Linked DNA regions of Homo sapiens: region 1 is linked to region 2. Evidence: promoter capture Hi-C in human tissues and cell types (Jung and others, 2019). All regions are on one chromosome and are shown on one strand. Each heading gives the region's core, a stretch centred on a gene start or on the middle of the fragment in contact. The rest is flanking DNA. Distances are from core to core; before and after follow the strand shown. Region 1 overlaps ADAMTS3 (ADAM metallopeptidase with thrombospondin type 1 motif 3). Region 2 holds the start of ADAMTS3 (ADAM metallopeptidase with thrombospondin type 1 motif 3).

Evidence for each region. The method cuts DNA at HindIII sites, captures the fragments that hold promoters and counts their contacts. A contact is called where the count stands out against the background at its distance.
Region 1: a contact is called between a fragment that was not itself captured here and the fragment with the promoter of ADAMTS3 in region 2, in 2 of the 25 tissues and cell types used here (dorsolateral prefrontal cortex and mesendoderm cells).

Annotation. Positions count from the first base shown.
Region 1 is chr4:72,482,589-72,487,300 of GRCh38, reverse strand. All of the region lies in intron 3 of ADAMTS3 (ADAM metallopeptidase with thrombospondin type 1 motif 3), which reads left to right. Among named protein-coding and RNA genes, the nearest start is that of ADAMTS3, 84 kb to the left of the region's middle. The HindIII fragment of the contact is 5,223 bases long and covers 1-4,170 here.
Region 2 is chr4:72,567,417-72,572,129 of GRCh38, reverse strand. It overlaps ADAMTS3 (ADAM metallopeptidase with thrombospondin type 1 motif 3), which reads left to right and starts at 2,909. Exons shown (of 22, transcript NM_014243.3): 1 at 2,909-3,436. The coding sequence starts at 3,368. The HindIII fragment of the contact is 11,291 bases long and covers 1-4,713 here.

The DNA of each region.
Region 1 (4,712 bases), core at 310-2,809, 83 kb after region 2:
TTAATATCCATGTTAGCTTTTTCTCCTACCTTTGTCTTCTACTTATTTGTTTTCCTGAACATTGAGCCAATATAATTTTATTAATGTGAATAATCACAATGAGTCATGTTTTCTGTGAAAAAGATTTAATGATCTAAGAGTTGACATACCTTTTATAGAGAATGTAAATCTTCTACAACAACCTTTGGCATACAGTGGTCACTATGCCTCACTTCTTGTGACTTTGGGAATATTTTAACCTCTCAGAATATTTTTTCTTCTCTTCTGTAAAGTAAAAGTGATGACTGGAGAGGTGATCATCCTTAAAATAAGTTATTAAATTCAGATAAGGATGTGCATAGTTTTCATGAAATCCAATGAACAATCTACAGTTAACTGAGCATTTATTATTTGCTATATTTTGCCCTTCTACCTTTTTAAACTAATGACATTAGAGGGGGAATAAGGAAGTGATAGAGCAGATGAGTGAAAAGCATCAGAGAATGAAGGTGCAGTATTCTGTCCATGCTGGCACTCTGGCTGTTCTAAGTAGTGCATTGACCCTCGAATGCCTGTATTCTTCACTTGAATTAAGTACTTGGCACTTTTTGTTCTTAAACTCTTTCTTCCATCTGGTCATGCAGTCTGTTTTGGGAAAGAATTATTTTTTTCTTTCATATTTGATTCAATCTTTTATTATCAGAAACCTGCCTATTTGAAAATTTGATTTTTCTAGCATTTGGATCTTTTCAAGCACTCTAAAAATAGAATCCATCCAAAGCCCTGGATTTATTAATGACGGAGGGCTCTTGCTTCAGAGGCCTGATGGAGGGCTAGGTTCTCAGTTTTCTTTGTGAAATAGACATAGAACCTATGATTCAAATAATTTTATTTTTTAAGTAGGAGCCAGATAGGCCTCTCTGTACAAGACTGAGCAGAAATATGAGTAAAGTATATGAATATCCAAATGTGGTTGTTCAACCAAGGTGGCCTCAGTACTTACTACAATGATGAAAATACATTTTGGGTGTTGGAGTACATTAGAACTGGATAAAGCTTGGCTGTGCCATCTAGAAACTTTGTTAAGTTGGGCAAGTTTAATTGATTTATGTAGATCTTAGTTTCCTCATTTATAAAACAGAAATGATATTTACTACAGAAGTTTTTCAGTCTGGTTTAACTAAGATAACATGTAAGTCTACTACTATATACAGTTCTTGCATGAAGGCACGTACTAGGTATCATCTTAGTCTATTTGGGCTGCTATATGGAAACATGTAAGAATGGGTAATTTCTAAACAACAGAAATTTATTGCTCACAATTCTGGATGCTAGGAAATCCAAGATCAAGGTACCAGCAGTTTCAGTGTCCAGTGAGGGCCCAGTCTCTGCTTCAAAGATAGCACTTGTTTGCTACATCCTCACATGGTGGAAGGGGCAAACAGGCTCTGTCAAGCCTCTTTTATAAGGGCACTAATCTCATTTATGAGGGCAAAGCCCTCATGACCTTATTACCTCCCAAAGGCCCCCCCTCTTAATTTCATTACCGTAAGGGTTAGGTTTCAACGTATGAATTTTGAGGGGGATGCTAACATTCAGACCATAGCAGTTGTTATATTTAGAAGGCATTGAACAATGTAAGTATGGTTAGGAGCAGCAAATATAACTCAGGAGAGAAAAGAAAAGTTTGTGTTTTGAAAATTAAGGGAACTTAAAAAATAGGAAGTTAGGAAACAAGAGTACTGGTAGAAATATATTTCTTGAATGATTTTATTGTGAACATATTTTTCCAATGATCTTTAAAAAAAAAATAACCTGTTAAACCAGAACATACATAATTAAGCCTGGAAGATAATGCAGGAAACGTAGCTAAAATTTTGCATTAGAATAGACATGTTTATCTATTCTCTATGATCTGATCAAAATTTTAAAAATTTATATCACTTCTAAAATCATTACTTGACAATTGAACTCCAGTCTAAACTACAAAAATTTTAGCTTAAACCCTTTGTGAATGAATCACTAAGATTAACATTTTTGTAGAGGTTTCAAGAAACCTCTTGAGTTGGAAACAAAATACACAAAAACAGTATATTGGAATATGTGGATAAATTCTGGAATATTTCATTTCTTTGAACTACGGATCTTGTTCCATGTTTTAGTGTTTGTTGTCATGAACATAATCACAAACCCACATGCTTGAAGCTTAATGAAAACCTTGTGGCTGCAGAAATAATCAGAAGTATAATATGCTGCATTTCTCTTTTTAACCCATTTCATCTTACTGACATTTTACAACCCATTTCATCTTACTGACATTTTACACACCATTTTCAAGAAGTTTTGAGCACACCAATCTGATGTAAATGCTCAGGTCTTTGATATTTATAATGTGGGAAATAGGAAAAACAAGGATACATGATTGAAAGGGAGGGTCGTTTATACTCTGGCATTTTGGGGGTCTTATACTTTAAAAAATCTATTCCCAAGAGTGATCTACAACCAGAATTGGACTTTTTCCTTGTTACCTGAGTATCTTTCAGGTATCTACCTTTAAGGTAGGCTATATGCTGCAATAGCAGCCACCCTCACCACCACTCTGCACACTTCCGCCATGCTGCCTATCCTCACCATCCATGGGAGTTTCTAGTTTGTCCTATATGACAAATGAGAGCACTGCAGATTTGCTGTGAGTAGCCTGTGAGATCCACTCCCACTTTTGCTAAGGTGAGTATATAAATCAAGGGAACTGAATTTTCCTGGCTTCATCTTTGGTCTGGTGTAGGAATGTAGCTCAAGTACAGTGAATCAAATACAACTCCATTTGTGCCTTAATGAGGTTCAGACACACTTATCTGCCTTTTGGTCTTTTTTTACCCTGCTTTAAGTATGCTGTACTAAGGGAATATTTGAGTAAGACATAGATGGTCAGGATCCCAAGTTTTGAAAGGGTAAATGTAGTTGTTGGTTTATAAATGATAATGGAAAAATATGTTTTTTAAAAGAAAAAAGGAAGGCATTTAACTTTCAGGACATTACTGGAAGAATTTTACACATAAGAAACTAGAATAGTGCCTTAATATGTACTGTGCACTGTAATTTAGTGTTAGGTTTTAAACTTTGTTATTATCTTTTTGCTTTTCCTTTTTACACATTTCTGGATTCTATTGCATTTAAGGAAGGACAGTAAGATTGGGGTAAATTAGATGGGATTGAGGGAGGGAGCCAGGGCTGTTTGAGAATAAATGGAGCAAATAAATAGAACAAACAAATGCTATCTTTTTTTTTTCTTTCTTTCTTTTTTGAGACGGAGTCCTGCTCTGTCACCCGGGCTGGAGTGCAATGGTGCCATCTTGGCTCACCGCAAGTTCCGCCTCCTGGGTTCACGCCATTCTCCTGCCTCAGCCTCCTGAGTAGCTGGGACTACAGGCGCCTGCCACCACGCCTGGCTAATTTTTTGTATTTTTAGTAGAGACGGGGTTTCACCATGTTAGTCAGGATGGTCTCAATCTCCTGACCTCATGATCGCCTGCCTCAGCCTCCCAAAGTGCTGGGATTACAGGCGTGAGCCACCGTGCCTGGCACAAATGCTATCTTAATGAAGGTTTGGGTATTCTTTGGATTTTACTTCTTTACTTTTATCCAAACAATTATATTGTTTTGCAGCTAGGTTGGATACTAGGAGTAGTGAAAACCTCTCTGAGAGCCACTGTTAACAGAAGATTTGTCCTACACTTGAGACTGGGGCAAACCAAATGTATTGTCTGGTTATCTTGGGGACAAATGAAGAATGAACTTCCTGAAACTCATTGTTGATGGGGTGTCACTCTTTTGGAAAAAGAGAAATAAAAGGAGTGAGGGATACTTGCCATTAGCTAAGACATTTATTATAAGACTGATTATTGATACTGCTTTAACCAAGGCTAGACTATTTAGTTTAGCTATAGAGCTTTTAAAATCAGATTTATTGGGGTATAACTTAGACAAAATGAAATTCACCAATTTTGGAAGTACAATTTGTATATTCCCTTGCATCCTGTGGCTTTGTAGTTTTAGTAGGTTTTTGGTAGCTCTCATAATTTTCTACATAAACTGTCATATTTTCTGGGAAAGAGAGTTTTATTTCTTCCCTTCCAATATGTACGCCTTTTTTTTCTTGCCTCATTACATTGGTTAGGATCTCTAGAAATGAAATGTTGAAAAAAAAGATGAGAGTAGAAATCTCTGTCTTAATCCTAATCTTAGGAAAATTGCATTCAGTCAATAATGGTTGATAGGACGTTAGCTGTAAGTTTTTCATTAGCACACTTTCAGGTTGGGGAACTGGCCTTCTAATTTTAGTTTGCTGATAGTTATTCTCTTTTATAGATGTTAAATCTTGTTAAATGCCTTTCTAGCATCTATTGAGATGGTCATGGGTTTTTTTATTTTTAGCCTGTTAGTATGATGAGTTACAGTGACCAATTTTCCAATGACTTATTACTTACATTGTGGTCCCCACAGCAGTGGAATCTGTATTATCTGAAGACTTGTTAGAAATACAGAATCTCAGGCTTTACTTACTAAATCATGATCTACATTTTTTTTAAATTAAACCTTTTTGAGATAGTTATAGATTCTGTTGCAGTTATAAGAAATGATAGATTCAGTGTACTCTTTTCTGTTTCCCTCAATAACATCCTCAACTACAGTATGATATTACCAATAGAATATTGACATTGATACAGTTAATA
Region 2 (4,713 bases), core at 1,660-4,159:
GGAAAACAACACTGTAGCCTGAGCCAAAGAAACATGGAGTAAGGGAAGGGATTTGACATAAGGCAGGCTGGTAGGGGTCAGTTTTTGAAAGGAACTCAAATGACTCTGTCTCTGACTCCTAACATCCTCTCTGGCAAAATTAAAAGTCAATCACGTTTTAGCTATTTACATTTTCCTATTTTCTTTAGACCTTGCCATATTTTATTACCAATGAGCCATCTGTACATATGCCATCAGTTTTATTCAAAAAATTACACTGAAGCCTTTACATATTCTAGACAATGTGCTAGAGTTTACATGTAAGATCATGTTAATTTTCATGAAGAGTTTGCAAAAGTAGTACTATGAAACCGATATTAGAGTTGAGAAAACTGAAGCTGAATCCTCATGAGAATCCAACCTATCTAACTTGAAGTTCATTTTGCTTTAATAGTTGGGCTTTGTAATGTCATTTACCCATGTGTGTTCCACAGAGGATAAAGCATGAGAAAAAAGGATTCTATGGTCATGTAAGTAAGGAGACCAAATTGCACTACATCTCCCCCTTGAAGACTCACAATTTTTTTTTTTTTTTTTTTTTCAGACGGAGTCTCGCTTTATCGCCCAGGCTGGAGTACAGTGACACAATCTCGTCTCACTGCAACCTCCGCCTCCTGGGGTCAAGCGATTCTTCTGCCTCAGCCTCTGGAGTAGCTGGGACTACAAATGTGTTTGTTTAAATAGGTACCCTGAAGTCTGAAATAAGGAGAGCCATTTTGTTTCATTTATCTAAGTATTTCATGAGCTCAGTTGGCTGTCTGAGAATTTTCCTTTTCCTGGTAAAACATTTAATATTCCAGGGAATACTTTGGGAAACTCTGCCTTAGAATATATTAGGAGAACCCTATTAATTAGAACTCATTTAGAATTAAAAAAAAACCCTATTGCATGCTCTTAAACTGATCTTTGTCAAAGTGAGAGTCATGACTTGCTGGGTTGTGAAATCAATTGAGTGCTCATCTGCAATTGGGGTTGCAGGGAAAGAATGGCAAGAAAAATATCAGGGTTGTTGCATGCAGTACAGGTAAGTACTGAATCATGAAATTTTTACTGGGTCGCTATGCAATATGCATTTCTCTCTGTGGTGATGGCCAAAAATGTCTGAAGCCGCTGCTTTCCTGAAAGTCACATGAATTGCTTGCTATGCCGGGAGTTAGGTGATAACTAATGTCTGAATGTTGTAAAATTAACACAAAAGGGCCTACTGTAATAACATGGTTAAATACATTATTTGTTATTACCTAAAATCAGATGATTTTAGATCTCAAATATCTCATAGAGGAGAAACCAAAATAGAGGTTTATTCTGACTTGTCAAGGTAAGACAGCTGTTAGCTGGGTCTAGAACCTAGATCTCCTAATGTGTATCTCTAGTGTTCTTTTACTTGTCAGTGTAAATTGACAGATTTTTCATTTATGGAATGCTTAGGGTTACTTCTTTTTAATGAATAGACAAACTCGGTGTAAAATGTAGCAAATCACTCCTGGATAGCTAGTTAATGACAAGTTACAAAAATGCTACAGGCTTTAATTGAAGGAAAAAAGTAATTTAGAGATACTTCAGTGCTGGGGTCTAATTCTAATTCCAATTAATAACTAATTGACCTAATATCCTGTTTTACTAGGTGGGGCCATTTAGTTACCTAGTTTCTCATTTGTATATGTAAATGTCCTCGATATATGATTTTGAGAAGACTTAGCAGATAAAACATCAGTGAACACCAAATCTTTCCATGCTTAAGTTAAAGGCACAACCATCACGTTACCTCTCCAGGAATAAACAATGAATCGAAGTTATAGGAAACCCTCCAAACTCACATTGCTTTTAAAAAAGAACAAGAACTATGACTTATCTTGCATCTCATAACAAGATAAACACTAGCTCGTTTTATTGTGGGCAGGCCTCTTCAAGACTGTCCAGTTGAAGTCTTGAAGTTCGTATCTAAATTTGTGTCTACTCACTCCTGGCTCGTGGACCGGTCAGTGGAGGTTGGAGCTATTTCCTTTTCCTCCTGTCTGCTTTCTGGAAAGCACCCACAGGTGTCTACGCCTGGGAGGTGGGCCTGGGCTAGGATTCCAGCAAACTCTCAGGTTGGTGTCATTTCCCCTCAGGAAGCGCCAGGCCACAGCGGGCAGAAATCATTTGATAACTTAATCTGGGTGTGAGGAAGAGTCGCTGAGGCCTGTGTACTCTAGTGATAAACGGAAGCATCCGGGTGAGTCAAGGAAAGGACGTGGTATCTTTTAAAACTAATATAAACGAATAAAGCCTAAACAAGAGCTTACAAAGAAGGACACCCCCTGCCAAAACGTGGGAGGTGACTGGTGCCTGGAAGGGAGATCACCGCGTGGTTAAGATCTGGAGGTTCCAGGGCTTCTCTTCGGGGAGAATTCTCTGGCTGGGAGAACAGTGGAGGTTGGAGGAGGTGAATTTCCTACAGCCCAGGACCAGCCCTCGGACCCTCCCCCTTCCTATAATTAACTCAACGCGCGTCCCGCCAGTCGGGACCGGTGGCGCCCCTGGACCCTCCCCTCCTCTCGCCCTAGGCGGAGAAGGAGAGGCTCCAGGGTGGGAGGTCGAGCCCGGGCCACACCAGCCCCCGAGCGGTCTCCAATCCTGACACGGTGCGGGGGGCGCGGGTTCGGGCCCCGCATGACGTGGGCGCCACGGCGGGAGGGGCAGTCCGGGGAGCTCCGGACGCCTTATTAGCGCCCCGCGGGTCGCCAGCAGCCAGCAGACTGCCGCGCTGCGAGCAACAGGAGCCGGCGAGCGGCCCACTCCTCCCACCTCCTCCGCCTGCCTTCTCCTCCTCCCCTTCGCTCCTCCCGCCCCCACCTCTGCGTGTGCGGCGGAGTCGCCCTCTCCCTGCCTCTTTCTCCCGCTCCCGCTCGCTCGTCTCTCTCGCTAATACTTCCCCCTGCTGTGCTCCGGGGAACCCAAGCATTCTCCGCGCTAACCTTAGGGACCAATGGTGCTCGAAAAGCCTCGAAAAAGCTGCTTTGGGCAGAGATAGTTGGAAAGCCCCTCGTCCCTTCCCCCTCTCCCAGGCTTAGCCTGTGCCCGCTTACAGCACCTTCTCGCTCCTGCACACTCTGTGTTGGGAGGACGGGGTGAGAAGGTGAAGTGGAAAAAACTGCAGAGCAGAGGGGGCCAGTCTCAGAGCTCAAATTTCATTTTCATTGAAGCAAAGCACAGAAGATCATTTTTTTCTATTTCGCATTTTTTCCCTTTTCCTTTTTTTCTTAAAGAAACTTATTTTGGGCGGGGGGGGTGGGTTTGCTCTGGGCATTTGCTTTGCCCAGTAGTTGGAAAGTGAACTCGACTCGTGATGGTTCTCCTGTCACTTTGGTTGATAGCAGCCGCTCTGGTAGAGGTTAGGACTTCAGCTGATGGACAAGTAAGTGGAAAATAATAACAATAAAAAAAAACTCAAACCCAACCTTTTCCCGAAAAGTTCCTCCCCTCTCTACCCTCCTCTCTTTCCTCCTTCTCCTCCCACCCTTCCCTGTTATCTTTTGCGTTCAGAAACGGTGTTTTGAGGGCTGGGCGCAGCGTGCGGGCTTTTGGGGGTAGAGGGTTGAGTTGCACGGGAGGTTACGACTCCCACTCCGGGAGCCCAGTCTTGTCACACCTAGGGCTTCACCAGTCTGCGACATTCGTAACAATTCCTAGTGACAAACCGCAGCCAGTTCCCATCCTCGCCGGGCCATCTGGGCTTCCCCTTTCTGGAGGGCGGTCTGGGCGCTTGAATGAAGTTCTGGACGCTGGGTCCGGGATCCCAGCGCTCTGGCTGCTGCCGCCAGAGTCGGGTTCCTGGAGCTTTCTCTCCTCCGAACTGACTCACGGTTTTTTCGGGCAGCCGGAGGCGGGGGTTTCAGGAAGTCCTTGGGCCGGACAGGGAGAGATCCAGTAGACACGTGTCCTGGGAGTACCACGGCCGGGCTAGGATTTGACAGTTGGGGAGGGGGGCTGGAGACGTTTCCTGCCCTCCGTTTTCCTGGGCAGAGGCTGCAGGCGCCGGCCGCCTTCTCCCCTCCCCCTCTGCACAACTCCTCCTCTTTTTAAAGCTAAGTTGAGTGCAGCTCTGTTTCTTTTCGGCCCTGCCCCCAACCCTTTGGAGGCTCAAGGTGAAGCCCGATGCTCTCAGAAGAGTCCTTGAGAAGGCTCCGCCAGGGGAGCTGTTTGTAGTAAATCATATCAGCACTGGGCCGATGGGACTTTGGGTACAGAATTTCTCTGTTAGTTTTTGTAGCTTCTCCGGTCGGCCTGGTCTGAACGACCATAGGGTAAAAAGTAGAGAATTGTCTAGTTGATTCCTGACCTTAAATCTGATTAATCAGGCCCCCTGTTAGGTGTATTTTGGCCTGTTAAATTCATACTTTCTTTTCTAATCCAGACCCAGTACGACATTTCAGAAGAGAGCATTGAGAGTCTGTATGTATTTTTGCTGGCTTCATAAGTGTTAAATTAAAATGAAAAGGGGCAAACAACTCCCTTCCCCAAATTGTTATGGAATTGGCTCATGGAACCTTCTACAAACCAAGGTGCAGGCTTTAGGCACCAATCCCAGTCTCTAGCATCTCCTGATTAGTTAGCTCTTGGAAACCATTAATGGTAGAAATAAAACTCACAAGGTGATAAGATGAAACCCAGTAACTTTCTTTTTCTTGCTTT